Linked DNA regions of Homo sapiens: regions 1, 2, 4, 5, 6 and 7 are each linked to region 3. Evidence: promoter capture Hi-C in human tissues and cell types (Jung and others, 2019). All regions are on one chromosome and are shown on one strand. The core of a region is centred on a gene start or on the middle of the fragment in contact, and the rest is flanking DNA. Distances in the headings are between cores, read along the strand shown.

Region 1 (3,372 bases), core at 751-3,250, 770 kb after region 3:
TTCACCTCGTTAGCCAGGATGGTCTCGATCTCCTGACCTCATGATCTGCCCGCCTTGGCCTCTCAAAGTAGGGATTACAGGCGTAAGCCACCGCGCCTGGCCTTTCTGTTCTAATTTTTATTATTTCATTTCTTCTGCTAGCTTTCGGCTTAAGTCGCTCTTTTCTAATTTGCCAAAATTAGAAGCTTAATTACTGACCTAGATATTTCTTCTTTTCTAGTATGTGTATTTAATGTTACAAATTACCTTCTGAGCACTTCTTTCACTGTATCACATAAATTGCAATCGTCTTTTCATTTCATTAGTTGAAAAATACGTATTTTAAAATTTCACTTGAGACTTCCTTCACCCATGTTATCTAAAAGTGTATTGTTTAATCTCCAGATTTTATATGATTTTTAATCTATCTTTTGGTTTCTAATTGATTTCATTGTGGTATGAGAAAACACTTCGCAGGATTTCTGTTATTTTAAATTTGTTAAGTTTTATTTTGTGGCCCACAATGTGGTCTATCTTGGTGAATGTTCTCTGTGAGCTATGGGAGAACACATATTATCTTGTTTGTTGATGGAGTACTTTCTAAATGTCAATTAGACTAACTTGGTTAACACTACTGTTAAAGTCAACTATACACTTACTGGTTTTTTGCCTGTCTGATCTATCAATAATACAAAGGTATTGAGGTCTCTTCTATGGACTGAATGTTTGTGGCCTCCCACCCCACAATTCTTATGTTAAAAAACTAATCCCCAGTGTGAATTTGGAGGTGGTTAGGCCATGAGGGTTTCTCCCTAATAAATGGGACTACTGCTCTTATAAAAGACTCCAGAGACCTCCCTTACCCTTTCACCATGTAATACACTGAATATGTGGCTATTTATGAGCCAGGAAGAAGTGTGGGTGGGGGGCTTTCACACGACAACGTATCTGCTGAAATCTGGATTTTGGACTTCTCAGCCTCTGGAAATGTGAGAAATAAATTTGTATTACTTATAAGCCACCCAGTTTATGGTGTTACTGTTTTAGCAGCCTGAACAGACTAAGTTTCTAACTATAACAATAGTTATATTGTTAGTTGGGCAAATAGTTGGATTCATCTATTGTTTCTTGTAGTTCTTTCAGTTCTTGCATTCTGTTGTTAAATGCAGACATGCTAAGTATTATTTATCTTTAAGAGAGTTTATTTCTTTATCACTGTTTAACACTCCTTTTTATCTTTAATACTCTCTTGTTCTGAAGTCAGCTGTGTCTTAAATCAATGTAGTTGTTTCAGCTTTCTTTTAGTTATTGTTAGCATGGTGTATCTTTCTCCATTCATTTAATTTTAATTTCTATGGGTCATTATATTTACAGTGGATTTCCTGTAGGCAATATATAGTTGGGCCATTTTATTTTTTGTCCACTCTGACAATCTTTTTATTTTGTGTGTTTAGACCATTAACATTTAAAGTGATTATTAATATAGTTGCATTAACATCTACCATGTTTGTAACTGATATTCATTGCATTTGTTCTGTTTCTTTCCTGCCACACTATTTTTCTGCCTTATATGACTTTAATTGAGCATTATATATGATTTCATTTTATTTCTTCTCTTAGCATGTCAATTGTACTTTAAAATACTCTGCTAATTAAAGTATTAAAATGCTTTACTCTATTGTTGCCATAGAGTTCTTTATATATAATACATTTTTACCCACTGAAAATCCACCTGCAAATAAGACAGTAATATTTCACATGTAGTGCGGGTAACTTCTAACAAAGTATTTCTAATTCCCCCTCCCACCTTTTATAAAATTACTATGATTCTTTTCACTTATGTATATGCCAGAATTTTGGAATGCATGATTCCTATTATTGTTTTAAAGTTGTTATTAAAAATGATAAAAAAATGAAAAGAAGTATTTTAACTTTTTTTGTTCATTTACTGCCATTCTTCTTTTCTTTATGTAGATATAACTGTCTGACCTGTGTGCATTTTAATCTCCCTAAATAATTTTATTTTGACATTTCTGCGAATTGGGCAGATCTGATAATTATGAACTCGCTTAGTATTGTCTTCTGAGGAAGGCTTTATTCTCTATTTCTGAAGCATAATGTTACTGGATAAAGAATTCTGACTTGGTAACAACTTTCTTTAAATACGCTAAGTAATTCACTGCACCTTCTTTTTGGATCACTTCTAATATCTAATATACTTTTTATTCCTATTATTCTATAGTATTATTGTTTTCCTCTGGCTTCTTTCAAGATTTTATCTTTGTTTGATTTTCTGCAGTTTGAATACATTATGCCTATATATACATTTTTTAGGTATATCCTGCTTGAAATTTTCTGACCTTTCTGGATCTGTGGTTTAGTGTTTGTCATTGATATGGTTTGGCTGTGTCCCCACCCAAATCTCATCTTGGCGTGTAGTTCCCATAATCCCCATGTGTTGTGGGAGGGACTTGGTGGGAGGTAATTGAATTATGGTGGTGGTTTCCCCCTCACTATTCTCATGATAGTAAGTTCTCACAATATTTGATGGTTTCAGAGGGGGCTTCCCCATTTGCTTTGTTCTCATTCTTCTCTCTCCTGCCACCATGTGAAGAATGAAGTGTTGCTTCTGTGAGTCAATTAAACCTCTTTCCTCTATAAATTACTCAGTCTTGAGTATAGCTTCATTGGCAGAGTGAGAACGAACTAATACAGTCATCCATTTTTTAAAGTCTTGGCCAATTTCATTTTAAATTTGTCTTATTTAATTCTTTCTTCCCTTTATGTTTTTCCAATTATGTATATTATATCTTTTTAACTTGTCCTACAGTTCTTAGATATTCTGTCTTTTTATTTTATTGTCAGTTTCTTTTTTCTCTTTGCATTTCATTTAGGAGGTTTCTATAGCCACATGATCCAGCTCACTGATTCTTTTCTCAGCTGTGTCGAGTCTGCTGATGAGCTAATCAAAGCCATTCTTCATTTAGATTGGTGATTTTTATTTCTATCATTTTCTTTTACTTTATTATAATATTTTTATAGCTTTTTTACATTACCTACCTGTTCTTTTACATTGTTAGTTTTTTTTCCATTAGAGCTTATAATGGGTTAATTACAGTTATTTTAAATTCCTTCTCTGATAATTTCAATATCAGTGTCATATCTGTGTCTGTTTCTGATGTTTGCCTTGTGTCTTCAGACTGTGGGGTTTTTTTCTTGCCTTTTATCATGCTTTTATTTTTTGTTTAAATCTGGACCTCATGTATTGGGTAATAGGAACTGAGATAAATAGTCCTTTAGTGAAATGGTTTATGGTGATCTGGCTAAAAATTGAGCTTTGTTTATTGTGTGCCATAGGCGTAGGTACCAGAAGCTTCAAATTTCTTTAGTCTG
Region 2 (3,243 bases), core at 287-2,786, 970 kb before region 3:
TCTTGAATCTTTAATAAGATTCTAGGCTATATGTGCCTTTGGTTGAATTCTCCTGAGTTGTTTCTATTTCTCTGAGTTTGCCATTTTTCTTCCTCTATTAAGTATCTGTATTCCAGGGTTTTGTGTAATTCACCAAAGCTTTTATAATAATTTCTAAGAACAATTTTGATCAAAGACCTAAGAAGACAAATAAAATTCTTCAGTAATAGGTATAATTTTCATCAAATGATTGCTTTCCTTTTTTTATTGTTAGGGCTCTATTGCTAAACGTGAAAGGGGAGCTGTCTCATAGATAAAACCCTCTGGTGTTCTGAAGGATGAATGGGAACAGTGGAGGCAATTTATCAGAAGCCTGTTTTTCTCTGCCAGGTCCTCCAGCCCATTTCCCCCAGGTCCATGGAGAGGAAACTCTCATAGGAAACTGACATAAACATAGACATTTCACTTTGGTCCAGCCAATCTACCATTAAGAATATTCAAATCCATTTATGAATGGATCTTGAGAAAGAAAAAATATATTGCTATGTTGGTTATTTTGTAAACGCCCAATGGGTTCACTTTGCTTGCCTAAACAGAGCCAATTTATCAAGACAGGGGAATTACAAAGGAGAAAGAATAGTTCACGCAGTGCCAGCTTTGTGGGAGACAAGAGTTTTATTGTTACTCACATCAGTCTCCCTGAGCATTCAGGGACTGGTGTTTCGAAGGATAATTTGGTGTGTAGGGACTCGAAGTGGGGAGTGCTGATTGGTTGGGTTAAAGATGAAATCATAGGAGGTCAAAGTGAGTTCTTGCTGTCTTCTGTTCCTGGGTGGGATTGCAGAATTGGTTGAGCCAGATTACCGGTCTGGGTGGTGTCAGCTGGTGCGTCGAGTGCAGGGTCTGCAAAATATCTCAAGCACTGATCTTAGGTTTTACAGTAGTGATGTTAGTCCCAGGAGCAATTTGGGGAGGTTCAGACTCTTGGAGCTGGAGGTCGCATGGCCCCTAAACTGTAGTTTCTAATCTTGTAGTTAATATGTTAGTCTTGGGAAAGGGTTATTATCAATTTTGTTTCAGAGTTAAACTATAAACTAAATTTATTCCCAAGGTTAGTTCAGCCTATGCCAAGGAATGAACAAGAACAGCTTGAAGGTTAGAAGCAAGATGGAGTCAGTTAGGTTTGATCTCTTTCACTGTCATAGTTTCCTCAGTTATAATTTTTGCAAAAGCAGTTTCACTTTCTAGTGTCTAATATTTTAGTAAGTCCTTCTCCTTCCTCCCATTTTCCTACCTTTTTGATCCTTTCTCTGTGCTACTTGCCAAAGTGTGCCAATTTCAATTCACTCATTTATTCAACAACTACTCCTTGAGCATCATCATGCACAAGGCACTAGACTAAACACTAAGGATTCATCCGTGAAGAAGACAGACAAAAAAAAATCTTGTCTTTGCGAAGTTTACGTTCTTGTGAGAGGAAGGCAATAAGCAAATAAAAGAGTAAAACATATGAGTCAGATGGTGCCCAGGAGAAAAGTGATGAAGAGAAGGATATATGAAATGCTTCTTCGTATGCTGTTAGGGCAGGGGAGAGAGTTAAGTTTTGGCAACCATGGTCAGGAAAAGCATCATCAAAATGGTGACATTTGATCAAAGACCTAAGAAGACAAGGGAATAAGGTGAACAGATAACCAGTGCGTTGCGATTTTTGGGTAGGGCTCAGTGGTGAATGCTCCTGTCTGCTCCACACGGCATCCACAGAGGCGTGGTGGTGGCAGGTGCCTGTAGTCCCAGCTACTCGGGAGGCTGAGGCAGGAAAATGGCGTGAACCCGGGAGGCGGAGCTTGCAGTGAGCCGAGATCGCGCCACTGCACTCCAGCCTGGGCGACAGAGCGAGACTCCTTCTCAAAAAAAAAAAAAAAAAAAAAAAAAAAAGATGGTCCTAATTTCAACACCTTGTATGTTAAGTCTCTGGATAAGCATTACCACCTTTAACAGTGGTTTATAAGTAAAAATTGTATTTTGCCACAAATCTGCAATTTGGGTAGGGCTCAGTGAGGAATGCTCCTGTCTCCACACAGCACTCAACAGAGGCAGCTGAGCCGAAGGATGGGGGTATGTTTCCAAGATGGCGCCCTCATGTGGCTGGTGAGTTGGTGTTGGCTGTCAGCTTGGGAGTTTGGCTGGGGGCCTCAGTTCCTCTCCATGTGCAGTGTGCACCTGTATGTGCAGGAATGGAGGAATGGAGTTATCATTTACTGAGAAGTGAAAGGCTAAAGGAGGAGCAAGACATCTGGAGTCAGATGTTGGACACATTAAGCGTGAGATGTCTGCTAAATATTCAGCAGGCAACTGGGAACCTGGAGTTCAGAATGGAAATTATAAAAAGAAATTGCCCTACCAAGGGAATTAACATCCTTGTCTTTCATTACTAGTTAATTATGCTGAGCTGACCAAGACAGGAAATGGCCATTACCCATACTTATCCCTAATAGAATGTGTATATTTATCCAAATGTGGTAGTTTTAAAACAAGTTCTTTGACATTCTTCCCATCAAGAGATGGAATCTATGTCCCCTTTCCTTGACCTAGGCAGGCATTTGTGGTTGCCTTGGAACCAACTGGGTATGACAGAAGTAATGTTATGGAACTTTTGAGGGTGAGGCATAAAAGGCAATACAGTTTCTGCCTCTCTCTTTGGGATGTTCATCCTTGAAACCCAGCCACCATGCTCTGAGAAAGCCAGGGCCACATGGAGGTGCACATTGCTTGTGGAGAGGAACTGAGGACCCCAGCCGAACTCCCAAGCTGACAGCCAACACCAACTCACCAGCCACATGAGGGCGCCATCTTGGAAACACATTCCTCATCCTTCAGTTCAGCTGCCTCTGTGAGTGCTGTGTGGAGACAGGAGCGTTCCTCACTGAGCCCTACTCAAATTGCAGATCTGTGGCAAAATACAATTTGTACTGTATAAACCGCTGTTAAAGGTGGTAATGCTTATCCAGAGACCTAACATACAAGGTGTTGAAATTAGGACCATCTTTTTTTTGTTTTTGAGAGGGAGTCTTGCTCTGTCGCCTAGGCTGGAGTACAGTGGCGCGATCTCGGCTCACTGCAAGCTCCGCCTCCCGGGTTCACGCCATTTTCCTGTCTCAGCTTCCCGAGTAGCTGGGACTACAGGCGCCCGCCACCACGCCAGGCTATTTTTTAAATTATTTTTAGTAGAGACGGGGTTTCACCGTGTTAGCCAGGATGGTCTCG
Region 3 (3,243 bases), core at 684-3,183:
AAACAAAAAGAACTGGAGAATAAGCACTGCACAGAGAGAAGGCCGTAGCAGGAAGGACCGGCAGTGACTTTCAACAGTGCTTGAGAGCAGAATTATGGCCGCGAGAGGGAGTGCAAACTGGGAGGCGGGGCAAACCCGGGAAAGACCTCCCAAGCAGGTTCTGCGAAGGGGCCCCACCGCCTTCAGCCCGCCTGGGTCAGCCTTATAAGGGGGAAAGGGGACAGAAGTCTGCAGAACAGAGATCCTAGCGTAGCCGCTCAGGGTACCTTCCCAGGTCACCATTGCTCCTCTGCCCTCTCCACATCCGCCCTCCCGTGAGCGCAGGATGCACGCACAGGCAGCGGTTACAAAACTCAGCGCAACGTTGCAACCCGCACAAAAGGCGCACACAAAATCATTAAAAAGAAATACACAGAGTGGAAAGAACTCGCACAAGCTCCAACTCGCTAAAGGTGGAAGGAGTCAGGTTACAAACTCTCCCTCCCCGGCCTAAATGCTTTGCTTTAGTTTGCAGAAAATCGTTTGTCAGTTTTTTTCTTGGTTATTCATTATTCGGGCAAATGCAAGTATGTTTTCTAGCTGAGTTCACCAATCCAAACCTCAAACCACATTCCTCCACTCCAGGCCTCCGTTCTGTCCGCGGACTTATGATCCTGCCTGCCAGCAGGAGTCTACCCTGAAGTCGCGTGGGATAGATAAAGTGAGGAGAGGAGGATGAATGGACAGACAAACGAGAGCAATTCTTCTACCTGTGGGCTGTCCTACGCCTTGCAGTGCCGGGTCCTGCGGCGACCACTGAGCCCCTTCGTCCTCGCCCTCAGTCCCTTCGTCCTCGTCTTCGGTCTCCGCTTTCCCAGTCGGCCGGGGCTCGTCGTCCACGACCCCGCACGTGCCGCCGACGTCGCCCTGCCGATTCCGCCGCAGGAGGTGGAACTGTAGTGGTGCCGGCGGCTTCTCCCCTGGGGCGGCGGTGGCGAGGCGCTCGCTGGCGGCGGGCAGCGGCTGGATGAAATACGCCTCCCCCAGCAGGTAGAAGGCGCCGCGCACGCCCTCGCAGAGGCTGAGGGCGGCAGCCGAGCTGGGATCGCCATTCACGGTGCCGGAGTAGAAGCAGTGCGCCAGGTCGGTTTCCGGAAGCGGCGTCTCGGACCCGGATTTGCGCCCCACGTTCTGGAGCGTGAAGCCGGGCGCCAAAAAGCTGCTGTCGGGCCGCAGCTCCAGATCCAGCTGCTGGTCAAAGGCGTGCAGGCGGAGGCGCGTGGTCCCGTGTCCCGGGGCGCGCTCCAGCTCCGGCACCACTAGCTCCTCGTCCTCCTCGGAGGGGCGCCCGAGTGCGTCCGACACGGCCAGTAGCGCCGCGGCGAGCAGCAGCAGCGTGGGTACTGGCCCAAAGCTCCGAGACCCCGGAGCCCGCTCCGCGTTCCCCATGTCGCTGCCCAGCTTGCGCCTTCCGAACCCCTCGGGCACAGCTCGCTGCATTGGAGCCCCAGGAGACACCGCTCGTAGCAGCGCACGGAGCGAGGGACCTTTAGTTCGGGTCGGGAGAGCAAAGCCTCGTTGGCCTGCTCTGGATTGTTAAAATTAACAATTTCTATTATTCGTTGGAAGGGCGCGCAGAGCCGGCTACAGCCGAAGCTCCCGGAGTCACTAAAAGGAGGCGCTGCAGTTCTGCCGGCGCGCGGGAAGTTTTTCTTCCAGCGCAAAGTTGGAGACACTGAGAGGCAGGCGCAGGCAGAGTGGCTCTGCTGGGACAAGAAGCGCTCTGGGGCGCCTCCGGGGCTGAGGCAACGCGGAGATTGGTGCCTGGCGCCCCTCTTCGGCCTCCGCCTTGGCTGCGATGTTGCTCACTCTGCTCAGGGCTCTCCCCTCTCCGTCCGGTAGCGCACCCTGGCTTTGCAATAGCCCCTGGCTCGGAGCCGCTTTCCAGCGAGTGCAAGAACCGGGCAGCCGAGCGGTCCTTTTATAGTGGACCAGTGAAACCCCCACCCCCACCCCACTCCTCCCCTTTGGCCCTTTTCCATCCCAAAGACGCCGCCCCCGGCTCCGTTGGTGCTAAACCGCGCTCCGCGCTGCGGGCTCGGGAGGGGGAGGGGGCAGCCTCCGCGCTGGCTCCACGCCACTGCTCGTCAATCTAGGGGCGGAAGGGGCGCTGTGACCAGCACTTTGTACTGCTGGGGCCGCTCCAGGGAGAAGACTCTCCCTTCCACCGCTTTTCTCCCTCGCCGGTTTCCTGGACCACCCTTCCTCCCCACCGCCCGGTTGCGGTAACTCAGTTACCGCGCTGGGCTGCGGTTCCCAGGAGGGAGGGTTCGGTTGGAGAACGCAGTCCCTTCTTCAACATTTCCCTATCCTGGAGCTGCCCTGGGTCTCCTTCCCTCCTCCCTCAGTTCCCTCTTCCCCAATCTAGGAGATGAGCTAGGGCTACACTTTCTAGAAAAATACCTCACCCCACTTCTCCACCTTCCCAGCCTGCCAGGAGCTCCTTAGCCGCCGCCTGCTCTCTCTTCGCCCCAGCTTTTCTAGGGAAAGCTTGGCCCTGCGCTTCCCCCAGAAAGCATGCCTGGGTGAGGGGCCAGGTGACACTTCCTACGATCTGGATTTTAAAATATGTTTGCTTATGCCTTCACCCTCCACCAACCCCCACCCCGCACGCCACCTCTTCACCAGAGACGACTTTGTGAGGGCCCGGTTTCACATTTCTGGAATGGGTGATCTGGGACGCGGCTCAATTCCCTAGAGCATAAGGAGGGAATTGCGCTTTTTCTTCTTCATTCGAGAAATGATCGGCTCCCGCCAGTCTGCGTGCTTTCACTCAACAGCAGCTGCAAGCCCTAGGCCAGCGTCGCAGAAACGGCCAGGAACCCCACTTTCCTACCCGGGGGCCAGCAGCGATCGCTGGGGCTAGCAAGCGTGCAGAGGGGGAAAGAAGGAAATCGGCTTCCTTCCCGGACCCCTCCTTCCTCTTCCTACCAGGAAGGGAAAAGGCTATATCCGCGTTACGAAAGCGAGGAGAGGTCCACCAACAGGTCCTTAGGAAAAAAAACTGAGTGGCTCTTCTCTCCAAAAAGTGGGAGGGGCTCAAGGACCCAGAGGAAGGACGTGTTTCACAGGCGGAAAGCCGCGGGGACAATGGCGAGAGCGACCGCCCTAGCCCCGGGCGGACCCGCAACCCTCACACTCGCGCGCCCCCGCGTTAGTGCTCGAACTGGTCTCCGCCTTTCCGCCCCACTCCCGTCCGGTCTC
Region 4 (3,445 bases), core at 783-3,282, 820 kb after region 3:
GCTGTGTCTCCCAGGCTGGAGTACAGCATTGCAATCATAGTTCACTGCAGCTTCAAACTCCTGGCATCAAATGATCCTCCCATCTTGGCCTCCCAAAGTGCAGGAATTATGAGTGTGAGCCACTGTGCCTGGCCTCATGAATTCTTATTATTTAAATCTATTTAACTTAATCATCACCACACAGGTTTGTGAGAAGAGAAAGCTGGGTGGCTAATGGGTAGGGAAATAGTTGGAAGAGACACAGAGAGATACTGCTGACAGTGATGGGCGCTGGGTAATGAAAAATCTTCTACAGTAACCTTGATCCAAGTCCTAGACCAAAAGTAGCAATAAGGTTCTAGTCTCCTCTTACTTCACGTTACCTCTGTGATTTCAGGAAAAGCAATCATCAATTTCTGGCATTAATTTTCTCACCTTGGGAAAAAAGAGGTAATATTTTGAAATAACGCACGTGGACGTGCTTTCTTGTTTCAAATGCTCCGAGGTTGGGGTTAGTGTTATTATCAAATGTTTATTGAAATCAATCAAAGTTGGCTCCTGCTCCTAGTTTTATAATGGCAATATGATAATCAATAAACCCTAGCCAGACTTAGGTTATTTACAAGCTGTGTGGAAGATTAAAGGATCCAACTATAATGACAGCATTGTTGTGATTATTACCATTATGTCAGCTAAGCAGGCAAAAACATTTTAATTTTACTTAAATGGCTACAATGAGATTAGAAAGGACACATTTTTGAAAAGGATAATATTAGAAATATATAAAAACCACTTTCCTGGAGTTGACTAAAACAAATGTTTAATTGACTCTCCATGATATGAATTATCAGTTCATATACTCCTGTTAAGTCAGTTATGATCTTTTACTGAAGCCAGTCTCCTCTTTAACTTTTTCTTCTCACTAGCTGAGTGATCCTGGATAAAGTCTTTAGCAATATAGACTTCAGCTTCTTTGTCTACACTTTGAATCTGTTGGCTTACATGCCTCTTGTTTTATTATTCTATGATTCTCTCACTCTTTATTTTGCATGGCTAAACTTGGACCAATCACATAGAGAGGAATGACATGGGCCTTTCCAGTAGATCTGATACCCTAAAGGAAGCCACTGACCACCCTTCATGATTGTAGTGCTGCATCTATGATGAAACCATTTTGTAATGAGCTTGGAATTCTTGATCACATTTTCAAAATAATATGTGTATTAGTTCATTTTCACACTGCTATAAAGAAATACCCCAAATTGGGTAATTTATAAAGGAAAGAAGTTTAATTGACTCACAGTTCTGCATGGCTGGAGAAGTCTCAGGAAACTTAAAATCATGACGGATGGCAGCTCTTCACAAGGCAGAAGGAGAGAGAAGTGTGTGACAGCGCAGGAAAAGCTACCATTTATAAAACCATCAGATCTCCTGAGAATTCACTATCATGAGAACAACATGGGGGAAACTGCTCTCATTAATCAATTCCATCTCTCCCTCGATGCATGTGGATTGCATTTCAAGATGGGATTTGGGTGGGGACATGAAGCCTAACCACATCAACATACTTCAATTTTATAATGTCTTATCTTTTGTTAATTACTGTACACATGCAAGAAGTAATTATCAATTCTATGAAAGGCAGGTTTAATCTTTAGGGACAGAAAGCAGATTAGTGTTTATCTACAGCAAAGTGTTCTGAGAAGTGATTGACTAAAAAGGTGCCAAACAAACCTTTCGGAGGTGATGATTGTGTTCTATGTCTTGATTATACTTGTGAGACCACAGGTGTATGCATTTCTTTAATCTCATCACACTATCCATTTGAAATAGGTATATTTCTTTTTATCTTATTCATACCTCAATCAAGTTGATTTAAAGAAGAAATAATACACCTAGGGTTTTTACTATTGTTGTCGTATTATCTTTCTTTTGATCTCTTCTTGGTCACATGATTAATTATAAAAATAAGAAATAGAATTCAATATCTTCATCCATGCCACAGTTGCCTATTAGAGTATGAACATATCCTTCATATATTTATCTACTCCCTCAACTTTTGATTAAAATATTTTGATGTTTAGTTTTTAGGTCAAATTACTTAATGAGCAAATTATCATGAAAATGTGTAAGTCATTTTATCATCTTTGTCTTCTCCATATGTCTATTAAAAATTTAAATATATGCAAACAAATAATGTGCCAGGAGCACACCTGGTATGTTTTAGGTGTTTAATAAATGTTGGTTGAATGAATAAACAAGCATCACTGTCCTGCCTACAGCCACATCCCTACTTTCTTTGACAATACAAATTTGCAAAATTTAAAATGTTGCACCCAGTGATGATAGAGCAAGAATATCTATTAGTAAAGGAAGTTATAATCTGAAACAAAAGCTTTTTATAAAAATAAATTGATTTATAATAAATGTAATGGCTAATAATCCTAATAATCGCCTAACTCCAGAATGCATTTCTGTCAGATGGGCTAACTTTGTTGGCTTTAGTGTCTTATTTATAAATCCATCCCTTGGGATTGTCTTATCTAGTTGTTGCTTTGCATAACATCAATTTCTTTGATGCTTTTCCATTCATGCACCCTCTTAATAGTTATCTCCTGAAATTACATTGGGATCTGGAAATCCCCTTTCAATCTTTCAAAAAATACCCTCAAATTTATTTCTAACTCATAAAAATTAATCTTCCCATTTCTGTGAGAGGATTTATGAATAAGCAGAGATATTTATTTATGTGTAACTACCAGACATTAAACTTTGCTCTGGATTTCAACAGTTTTTATTGTGTCTTTTGTTTTCACAATAATCATTGAGCCCTTTGCTGGCCAAAAGCTCTGATACCCTTAAGGAGAAATGTTTTCCTGTGGTTTTTAATAAAGAGCAGAGAAAATCTTGGTTTATGAAGATTGAGAAGTATATTCACCCTATTTAAAGTTAATTCCAACTTCCTGCCTAACTCCGTTTCAAAGGGATTTAGCTTCAAATCTTAACTTTTTTTAGAAAATATAAATGGAGAATTTAGATAAACAGTAATTGTAAAAATTTTTAAATCACAAATTGAGAGAATTTCTATAATAATACATTTATTGATATAATGTTAGCACTCCATTTAATCTGATGTAAAATAGCAGCAATAGAAAGCATGGCCACTTGGAAATCATTTTTGTGATAATGCATATGCTTCATGTATGGAAATATCTTTCTAAATGGTAATAGGAAACATTTGTTGACTGTTTACCATTATCAAGTACTATTCTTAATGTTTCACATTTGGTCTTAACAATAATCCTACATATTAGATATTATTACAAACTCTATTTCAGAGGTAGCTGAAACCCAAATAAGTCCAAGTAAGTGACCCATTGTGTAACTAGAAGTGATAGAGCTGACATGTTTAATTCCAGACAATCTGAGACCAGAGCCCTTGCTTTTAACCAATATGTGAAATAGC
Region 5 (3,156 bases), core at 255-2,754, 800 kb after region 3:
TCACTGTTGTAACTTAAGATGATAGCTTGTACACAAAAACATTGAAGAGTTTTGAGATAATTTTGAAAATACCTAAATAAGCAATATTTACATATTATGGCTCAGGGAATAGATATTAACAAAAATTATCCTCTCTCAGGCCACTGTCTAGACCACAGGAAACCTGGTCAACAACATATGGGATGTCACCAGATTCAGACTCAGAAGTTTCCATAATGCCGTTGCCAACAGCTAGACACAGTGAGTCATGGGGGCCCCAGTAACCAAACTCTCATCACACACAGGCTGTTTAGATAGTGATGGAACTAACATGAAATAAAATCAGGCCAAATAACATCTTAAGGTTCTAAAGAAATATTTTAGATTCAACAGATCTTCTAAATTCAGCAGTATCCAGAAAGTTTTGCCAGAGCAAGAGAAGTATAATAAATTAGAAACAAGTTACTTTCCGCAACTCAGGTTGCTTTGAAAAAGAAATTATTACAAGAAAAGGATTTAATCTAGACAGTTACAGGTAGTCACATCCATGTCAATATTTATATCTCTGTCTATATAGTAAGCTTGATATCTGTGTACATCAGTGAATAATAGTACCTACCTCAAATGAAATTAAATAAAAAACAAATGAGATACCACAATTGAAGTTGATTAGCATGTTAGTTGTGTAAACAGTCACATGTGAGCACAAGTGTGCACACACTACTTTTATTGGGTCCTTATATTTCTTGGAAAAAAATTACATTTATATTTACCAGAGGAGCAGAGTTATAAAACATAGCAATATGCTATTCCACATACAACAATAAGCATGTCTTGGAAGGCAAGCTAGATCAAAAACTGACGTATAAGATGGAGTTTAGAAATCAACTGTAATTATATGTCTGGAAAATTCATGCACTTTAGGGAAATCTAGCTCCTGCCAGCTTTATTTGTATGCTGTGATTTATCTTAAAGTAACGTCATGCCTCATGCCAGTGACTGATTCAACACATAACATTCTACAAGTCACAGGAGTCCATTCAGGAAGGAACGATATGTGACTCACTCACTATCATGAGAACAGCAAGAGGGAATAATCACCATAATCAGCACCTCCCACCAGACCCCTCCTCCAATTCCACATGGAGGAAGAATTTGGGCAGGGACATAAATCCAAACCATATCAACCGTGCTTTTACATAACCTACCTTTGTCACCCAGATTTTCAGTAAAACTTTCCCTCATTCATCACCAATGTGTTCAAGGCACTTCAGGGAGAAAAGTATTTCAATATATTATTTAGAAAGGGAAGAATAAGTTCAAAATACATGAACCTGATATGGATACTGGTCAGGAGAAAACAAACCCACTGGACAAACTTGGAAAGACAGGGGAGGTTTTTTGCACATGAGTGGGGACAATGTTTCATGACTCGGATGAGCTGATGAGTTGGATGATGTTTCACGAGTTGGATGAGTAGGGAATAAACATAGCAGATCTAAGGAAACAGGAACACACTGCACATACAGTGTATGTGTAATTATGCACATACAGCAGCTGTAAAATGTAGTCTATCCAGTGGGAAATAAGATTCTTTAAATGTAAATATTCTCTAAAAGGCACGTTACTTACCTGAAGTTTTTCTGATTTGAACATGTATGTTCTTAGTTGCAAGTATTGGTTGAGTCACATAGTTCATGTATAAGTGTATATAAGGGGTGTGAAATGGGGATATAATAAACATAAGAAATGTATATAAATACTCTTCTCTATATGATAAAACTAAACATATTCCAATATACAATTCTTATGTACATCTAATATGGAAACAGTACAACAAAGATAATATAATATAGTCCACTCACTACTCACCAAAGAGATGGTGAGAATCCTAATCTAGAAGAACCAATAGAAAAATAATAGTGCGTTATGCTCATCTTCTCTTTTTCGTATTATGTCCTCTGCTAATTCTTAAACTTTATAGCACTATCATTACATGTAATCTGCACATTTTATAGTTTTTACTATAACTTACAGTTTGATTTTAGAGTTGAAAGGCACATAAATCATTTTAAGTAGAGTATTTACACAGATTTTATTTCTACCTACTATGAAGTGCAAAATGCCAATAGCATACTTTCCTGACTAACCGGGGGTAGCTTTTCTTTTATTCTTTGTCCCTGGAAATCACTCAGACACTGGTGTTCCATGAAGTACCTAGTTAGGGAGTGTACCTAGTTAGGGACTGTTCTCATGCTGCTAATAAAGATATAATTGAGAATGGGAAATTTATAAAGAAAAAGAGGTTTAATGGACTCACAGTTTCACATGGCTGAGGTGGCCTCAATCATGGCGGAAAATGAAGGAGGAGCAAAGGCACATCTTACATGGCAGCAAAGAGAGCATGTGCAAGGGAATTTCCCTTTATAAAATCATCAGATCTCATGAGACTTAATCACTATCACAAGAACAGCATGGGAAAAACCTCCCCATGATTCAATTACCTCCTACTGGGTCCCTCCTACAACAGGTACCATCTTCAGTTAAAATACCTACATTAACCAGCCACATTCCCTCTGAACAAGGGCTTAAACTTAGAAAAATATGATGACAAGTAGGACTGCACTGCAAGCAAGAAAAATAAAATATGATTTCTAACTTTTCCATTCCTTCGTGTTGGAAATAAAAAAATAATAAATCATTGTTACTGATGCCAGATTTTGTGTAAAGAGTTAATGCTTATGTGAATCAAAATAGATTTATAAACCTTTCAACACTGCAGCTTGGCCTTAGAACCTTTCCTGAGATACCTCCTTTTTTTTGTGAAAGCAGATGGCACACATATATGCAAATTAAAAATAGACTTTGGTTATAAAACAAAAAAATAAGATTCAACAAGCTCAACTTAAATTATTAGCTCAGCACAGGCGAGTCCAACAGTAGCTATCATTAAATTCAGACCGGCCCACCATTGTAAGAAAGACAGTAATAGTTATGCAGTATCTGCAAGGCATTTTGAATCCATTACATAAAAATGTGTGCTTGGAATACTATGCTATAGTAAGCATTATGAGACTATGCCCACTTTTACCCTGAGGAGTGTAATTAAGTGCAATGCTCAAATGAATGGTTTGCAGTGACATGTATTATCCTCCTAAGCTGGCTCAAAAGAAGCTC
Region 6 (3,184 bases), core at 522-3,021, 1.0 Mb after region 3:
ATTAGACATTAGAACACAGTAGTACGTGTTACAAGCTGCCTCTCCAAAATCAATGCCTTCACTATAGAACTTGCCTGAAGCAATGACTAAAACCAAGATTATCTCTGAACCATCAGAGATAGAAAATTCTGGGATGATTTCTACGTTTTGTGTTTTTGGAAGGATGAGTTATTGTGTCTCATTATAGATAATGAGACTCATTGTTTGGACGGCAAGTTATGGAACCCATCAACATACAAATTCTATGGTGAAAGGAACCATTACTTTAAGTGACTTATGTGCCACTTACTGAGTCAAATTAAATGATAAATCAACTGCTAAAAGAAAAAATTGCACAAACTATTTATAACCTGAAACTTGGGGCTCGACTCACTGATATGTAAGACTTATCTGCCCAAACACTAAATTTCTTGCTGTTAATGCATTTCCTTGTCTATCCACATCACTTCTTCATCTCATTGAGTCTTTGGTTTTCAGACACTCTATTATTAACTTACTCATCATCATTTCTACTCTCATAAAAAGCCTGTTTTCATTGATAGTCACTGAATAAACACATACTGAGGACCTGCCATATTTCAAAGGAAATTCACAAAGGATGAAACTGACAAGCAAGAAATGCACAGGGCCCTAAGGTGACTTGGAGGCTTTCAGATTAATGCTGTGGTAAGAGATGACATCACATTTTGAGAAATGACAAGCTTCCACTAAGAGTTAGGATTTTCTCTTTGTACTCCTCCTTTCCTACCTGTACTTTACAATTGGAATAATGACCAAGAATAACATAGAATGAAACTTGGCTTCATAAATAATAACAATTGAAAAGAAGCATTTATAGAACATTTATTAAAACTAAGTAGGTGAGCACAAACTGAATAGTTCTACTTAAAAATTAATAGACAGATATGCTTCTGTATCTTGGTAACAGATGTCTTAAGTTAAATTGACATGACATGAATTGTACTTTCAGTTACTTCAATGATGGAGTATCCATCTTTTAAAGATTACTCTGCATTGGCACCTTCAAACTAACTTGGCATTGTTCCTCTAAATGTCCTTGGCTCAAAATGTTTTACAATAAACTTCTAAGCCAGTGCAGGCAGAATCTTGGCTTTTATGGGATCTGCCTCTGCCCACTTCAGGATACGTGTTATAATAAGCAGACACGCTGTTTTTTCATTATTAATAATTTAGCATATTCTTTCATATCTACCAAACATCAACGTTTAATTCCAATTTTATTTTGTAAACACAAGTTTATGTAAACACTTTTTAATACCTGAGAATTTGCCTTGCCTTTAAAAGCAGAAGCACAGAGAAAAGAAGAAACAAGATGAAGGACTAGGTCAAAATGACTACAATTAAAGGCATTGAAATTACATTGCCAAGCTTTTTTGTTTGGTAATTATCTGCTTTGTAATTTTGGGAAAATAATCTCCCTCTTCCAATATTATGTATTATTAAATGGTAATTTTATATAGTTTATTTCTTGAGATGTTTCCTTAGTCATAATAGAAGTGAAAAAGTTCAAATGCTTAATAGCATTTCACTTTTACATTTTTTATCATCATACTTTTTATTTTTTCTCTATATCTGCGTAATTTCATTTATTTTTATACAAACAAGAAAATCACCCTGCTTTATGGAACTTCTGAGTATTTAATTCATCTTTATATCAACTTATTTTATATATGAGCAAGTAAAATGCAAATATAGAAATATGTGCCACAATTAGACATCATTTAAATTATATTTGAATGGTCAGATTTTTTTTGTCTCACTAAGCATGAACAAATGATGGTGGGTTTTCATAGAGAAGGTGTCTGGGCATTGCAAATGTGCAGAGTTCTGACAGTTCAAAGGCCTGTGCCATTGGGAAAAGCTAAAGCTGCCCAAAGTCAATTATTTACTCCTCAGCAAAGACTGTAAAGAAGCACAATGAACATGATAGTGGTCTGTAGGCCTAGTTGTGAACTAAAATAACCTAGGAAATTTTAACAGTCTCTGATGCCAAGTCTTATTGCTAAACTCTGATAATTGCTCTTAAATTCATTAAAGAATATGACACTTGAAATAAACTTGGAGGTATATTAAATACATTTACTGTTAGGAAGAATGATGTGGAATTGGCAACATTTTATTATGTGTTGAAATTAAAAGGCAATTTCTAGTTAATGACATTTTATGCAATTTCATTTCTCAACAGGGGCCTAGAAAATGAGGGCAATCTTACAACATTTATAAACATGTCGTTCGCGGTTAATTCTTAAAATATTTTTTATTATACTTTAAGTTCTGGGATACATGTGCAGAGCATGCAGGTTTGTTACATAGGTATACACATGCCATGGTGGTTCGCTGCACCCACCAACCCATCATCTACATTAGGTATTTCTCCAAATGCTATCTCACCCCTAGGCGTCCACCCCCTATAGGCACTGGTGTGTCATGTTTCCCTCTCTGGTCTTGTGTTCTTTTTGTTCGGCTCCCACTTATGAGCGAGAACATGCGGTGTTTGGTTTTCTGTTCTTGTGTTAGTCTGCTGAGAATGATGATTTCCAGCTTTATCCATGTCCCTGCAAAGGACATGAACTCACCCTTTTTTATGGCTGCATAGTATTCCATGGTGTATATGTGCCACATTTTCTTTATTCAGGGTTAATTTTATTTCTCCATTGAGTTAATCAGGCATGTCTTTCCTGAAATTAGGACTTGTCTATGATTCTGTAAGTGTACAATAAATAAATTTTAAAATAGTTTTAAAAATCACTACATTAGGAAAAAAAGAGATAAATTAATAAAGATGAAAATTTAAGTCATTGAGTCCTCCTGTAGTATCTATTATGGTATTCAAATATATATAACTTGAATTGTACTGAAAATTCAAATGCATATAAAAAATTATTTAAGAGTTGGAAATAAGACAAAAATTGGGTGAAATAGTTTTTTTCAGTTGTTTAGTGGGATTGTTTAGTTTTCTAATAATAATACAGTTATGTTTGAAAATGATTTATTATTTGCTCAGAAGCTACTATGAAATTACATATTAACTTTAAGATTTCTTCCTAAAAGAGATTATATTCCTGAAGATTATGTGTCATTGTCATTTCACATCTCCCATAGAAGTCTTATGCTAACATTCTTTTCTCCAAATGTCTAGAAATATCCAGTTTCTCAAATATTT
Region 7 (3,340 bases), core at 309-2,808, 950 kb before region 3:
AGATCATGCCACTGCACTCCAGCCTGGGTGAAAGAGCAAGACTCCATCTCAAAAAACAAAGAAACAACAACAACAAAAGAAAACAACAAAACCATGAAAAAAACCAAAACAACAACAGCAGCAAAAAAGGGGTCTTGAATTACTCAAGTATGAAGACATCTTTATTTGCTCAAATATGGAATTAAATTTTTTTAAAAATTAATTTGAGCAGAAATGAAATAAGCTGATACTAATGAAAACCTATCTTACACTGTTTTGAGGGACATAAGCTTAGATACTATCACAAAAGGTGCAATGGCCAAACATGACAGTGGGGTCATTGCTTTTATGTGCTCACACTCTGATCTATGGGTCAGTCCGTTCCTTTCCACCCTGCTGCCTGCTGTTCTCTTGGTTTCCTTCCTCACACTGCTCATCCACGTCAGTATGAATGGGGAAATGAGGCTCCACCCCAATTTCCATCAGCAGCTTCTGTTGTAGTCTGCAGAGGTTTTAATTGCTGAGCAAAATGAAATTTCTGGCTTCACCACAAATTTCATTTATTTAAACTCTGCCTGTCCTCTTCTAATCAAGAATGGTTTAGAGCCCATTTCCTTGGGGATAGTGGAATCTTCAACTCCCTAGAAACACCTGGACTTTTCTCTGATGGAAAAAGCAATGGGGGCCAGACGCGGTGGCTCACGCCTGTAATCCCAGCACTTTGGGAAGCCAAGGCGGGTGGATCACCTGAGGTCAGGAGTTCGAGACCAGCCTGACCAATATGGTGAAACCCTGTCTCTACTAAAAACAAAAATTAGCCGGGCATGGTGGCGTGTGCCCATAGTCCCAGCTACTCAGGAAGCTGAGACAAGAGAATTGCTTGAACCCAGGAGGCAGAGGTTGCAGTGAGCCAAGATCCAGCCTGGGCAACAGCGCGAGACTGTCTCAAAAAAAAAAAAAAAAAGCAATGGGGAATATGAGGGGAAATCTGGACTCTGAGCTTGACCTTGCATAATTTGAACCCTTCTGTCTCGGCCTCAGTTCCCTCATCTACAAGATGAGAAGATCAATTTGATTGGTCATCATCAATAAATCTTTCAGCTCTAAAAATTCCATAACTCTTAAAATATCGCAATTAAATGTCACACAAATTTTTCAGTTTCCCTGTGCATATAAAAGTTATGTTTACACTATACTCTCTGCAAGACAGTTTCCTAAAAAGTTGCATATACTGTGAGATTTTAACACTTTTTCCCCCATCCAAATGGCATTTCAAATGCATAAAAATAACTTATTCGTAAATTTTCTTTCTCTCTTTCTTGTTTTAGTATAGCACCTTGAAACTAAGATATTTCAGGTGGAAGTGCAGGGTAATAGGTTGCAGAACTCTCAAATAACAATCATGTATGTTTTGGTGGGCCATTTGGTATAGTGTGATTTCCTGAGAAACTTTAAAGGTAAGAGTCTGCACTGAAAAGTCACATTATTTACTATTACCTGGTTGTATTGAGAGGCCAGACTATTTAAGACAAAAGAAATCCAAGAATAAACATGTTTAGTTTTTTTGGAAAAAGCAACTTCCTACTTCTATTTTTATTTTTAACTTCTTGTACTGGTTTTTGTTGCTTGTGTTTGAAAAAAAAAAGTCTAAGAGTAATCATGCTTTTTTAAAGTCATGCATTATCATTTGTATTATTTTGATAACTTCAACACAAATTGTAAGTTGAGATAACAACACACACTCTCAATACCTTGAGCAGAATATTCACGGTAAGTTGCAATGAATGAAAACCAAAACAAGAAAGAACAACTGTAACCCAAGCATCATGGAAGCACACTGATTCGTTTTTTAAAAGAGATACTTAGCTAGTTCTTAGCAAAAAGCTAAGCCTAATTCTCTCATAGTCTTAATTCCCACTTGGAAACATGCAGTCAAGTTTACCTACCTCCACCACACCATGATGAATGGATGTGTACTGTTTCTTCTTCAGCATCACCAAGGTGATGACGATCACTGTCGCTATGACAACACCGCCCACCATGAGTCCAATGATTGCACCTTTGTTTGAACCCACATCTTCTGCAAAGAACACCTTGAAAACAAATTAAGAAAAAGAATTTTAATTTCTAAATGCAATATAATTTACAATTTATAAACGCAATTAGAAGAATTTCATTTCTTAAATGCAGGGGACATTTGGATGAGGTTATATAAAAAGTTTCAGTATATTCTCTGCCCAACTGGTTGGTCAAATATTTGATGCTTACTTTAAAAAAAAAAAAAAAAAAAGAAATCACATATTTTCCTACTAAGAATGATAATCATAGTTTATAGAAGGATGTACAACATGTGGCTTCCCCAGTTCGAGGAAGTCTACTTTCCCCACAGGTCAAAACCGAAGTCTGCAGGGACCTGAAACCCTTTGACAGGTGGAACATTTGGTGAGTGGTGGGAAGATAGCGCTTGGATCTATCAAAAGCTGGAAAGGCACGATCATACTAATGAAAGGAGGTCAGCATTTTCCTAGTCATAGCACTCTGAGCCCTGATGTGTGACTCTAAGTGACTGAGACTTAGGTGTTTTTCAACTCTGCAGATGTCCTAATTTCCTTGGAGGGACACTTTTAATGCACAGGAATAGGCATTCTGAAACAAAGGAGTTAAACAATAGAAAAAAAGATATCTTGTTACCTACTTTTAGCTATAGTAATTCTGCAGAATTCTAATTAACCTTTAGCAGTGTAATGCTTTTTAAAGCATAATGTTATTTCAAAGTGAAGTACAGGCAACAAGAATTTTAAGTCACTCATAACTCATGCTTTCTAACTATTGTCTCCAGAAACCAAAATCTGAAATGTTGCTTTATTCTTGCTCTTTATTTGGATTAAACATAAAAATAATTTTGAGAACATTGTAAAGAAGGAATAAAATTTCATTTACTGCACTACATTGCTTCATACTGTTTATAAAAGCAAGTCATTATTTTTCAACTTTATCTACTTGAATGAAATTATAGAAGCACACCACAACTTTTATCATCTTGTTATATAAGGAGTTGATCTTATGCCAGATGAAGTAAAACTAAAGCTAAATATTACCACGTTTGCTCTGCAACTTAATGAAAATACAGGCATACATAGCTTTATTGTACAGTAGTGCTTACAGATAGTATTTAAAAAAAAAAAACAAAAAGGTTTCTGGTAACCCTGCATCGAACAAGTCTATTGGTGCCATTTTTCCAACAGTGAACACAGGTTCACTTCATGTCTGTGTCACATTTTGGTAATTATTTAAATATTCAAACATTAAAAATTATTATATCTGTTTGGTGATCTGTGATCAGTGGCCTTTGATGTTACTA

The links. Contacts are between HindIII fragments. The study calls those that stand out against the background at their distance.
Region 1: a fragment that was not itself captured here is called in contact with the fragment with the promoter of ADAMTS1 in region 3 in 4 of the 25 tissues and cell types used here (dorsolateral prefrontal cortex, heart left ventricle, lymphoblastoid cells and 1 more).
Region 2: a fragment that was not itself captured here is called in contact with the fragment with the promoter of ADAMTS1 in region 3 in 1 of the 25 tissues and cell types used here (dorsolateral prefrontal cortex).
Region 4: a fragment that was not itself captured here is called in contact with the fragment with the promoter of ADAMTS1 in region 3 in 3 of the 25 tissues and cell types used here (dorsolateral prefrontal cortex, mesendoderm cells and thymus).
Region 5: a contact is called between a fragment that was not itself captured here and the fragment with the promoter of ADAMTS1 in region 3, in 1 of the 25 tissues and cell types used here (IMR-90 fibroblasts).
Region 6: a contact is called between a fragment that was not itself captured here and the fragment with the promoter of ADAMTS1 in region 3, in 2 of the 25 tissues and cell types used here (dorsolateral prefrontal cortex and hippocampus).
Region 7: a contact is called between a fragment that was not itself captured here and the fragment with the promoter of ADAMTS1 in region 3, in 1 of the 25 tissues and cell types used here (dorsolateral prefrontal cortex).

The regions. Positions count from the first base shown.
Region 1 is chr21:27,616,379-27,619,750 of GRCh38, forward strand. No RefSeq gene overlaps it. Among named protein-coding and RNA genes, the nearest start is that of LINC01673, 21 kb to the right of the region's middle. The HindIII fragment of the contact is 5,420 bases long and covers 1-3,372 here.
Region 2 is chr21:25,869,653-25,872,895 of GRCh38, forward strand. No RefSeq gene overlaps it. Among named protein-coding and RNA genes, the nearest start is that of GABPA, 140 kb to the left of the region's middle. The HindIII fragment of the contact is 8,437 bases long and covers 1-3,243 here.
Region 3 is chr21:26,843,476-26,846,718 of GRCh38, forward strand. It overlaps ADAMTS1 (ADAM metallopeptidase with thrombospondin type 1 motif 1), which reads right to left and starts at 1,934. Exons shown (of 9, transcript NM_006988.5): 1 at 750-1,934. The coding sequence starts at 1,479. RefSeq lists enhancers at 2,118-2,718, 2,719-3,243. The HindIII fragment of the contact is 5,494 bases long and covers 1-2,944 here.
Region 4 is chr21:27,665,725-27,669,169 of GRCh38, forward strand. The region is part of intron 2 of LINC01673 (long intergenic non-protein coding RNA 1673); the gene reads left to right. Among named protein-coding and RNA genes, the nearest start is that of LINC01673, 29 kb to the left of the region's middle. The HindIII fragment of the contact is 4,608 bases long and covers 1-3,445 here.
Region 5 is chr21:27,648,526-27,651,681 of GRCh38, forward strand. LINC01673 (long intergenic non-protein coding RNA 1673) reads left to right here. Exons shown (of 4, transcript NR_183539.1): 2 at 140-240. Among named protein-coding and RNA genes, the nearest start is that of LINC01673, 11 kb to the left of the region's middle. The HindIII fragment of the contact is 4,098 bases long and covers 1-3,156 here.
Region 6 is chr21:27,839,393-27,842,576 of GRCh38, forward strand. No RefSeq gene overlaps it. Among named protein-coding and RNA genes, the nearest start is that of LINC00113, 120 kb to the left of the region's middle. The HindIII fragment of the contact is 3,565 bases long and covers 1-3,184 here.
Region 7 is chr21:25,889,797-25,893,136 of GRCh38, forward strand. APP (amyloid beta precursor protein) reads right to left here. Exons shown (of 18, transcript NM_000484.4): 17 at 1,926-2,072. Among named protein-coding and RNA genes, the nearest start is that of GABPA, 160 kb to the left of the region's middle. The HindIII fragment of the contact is 4,595 bases long and covers 1-3,340 here.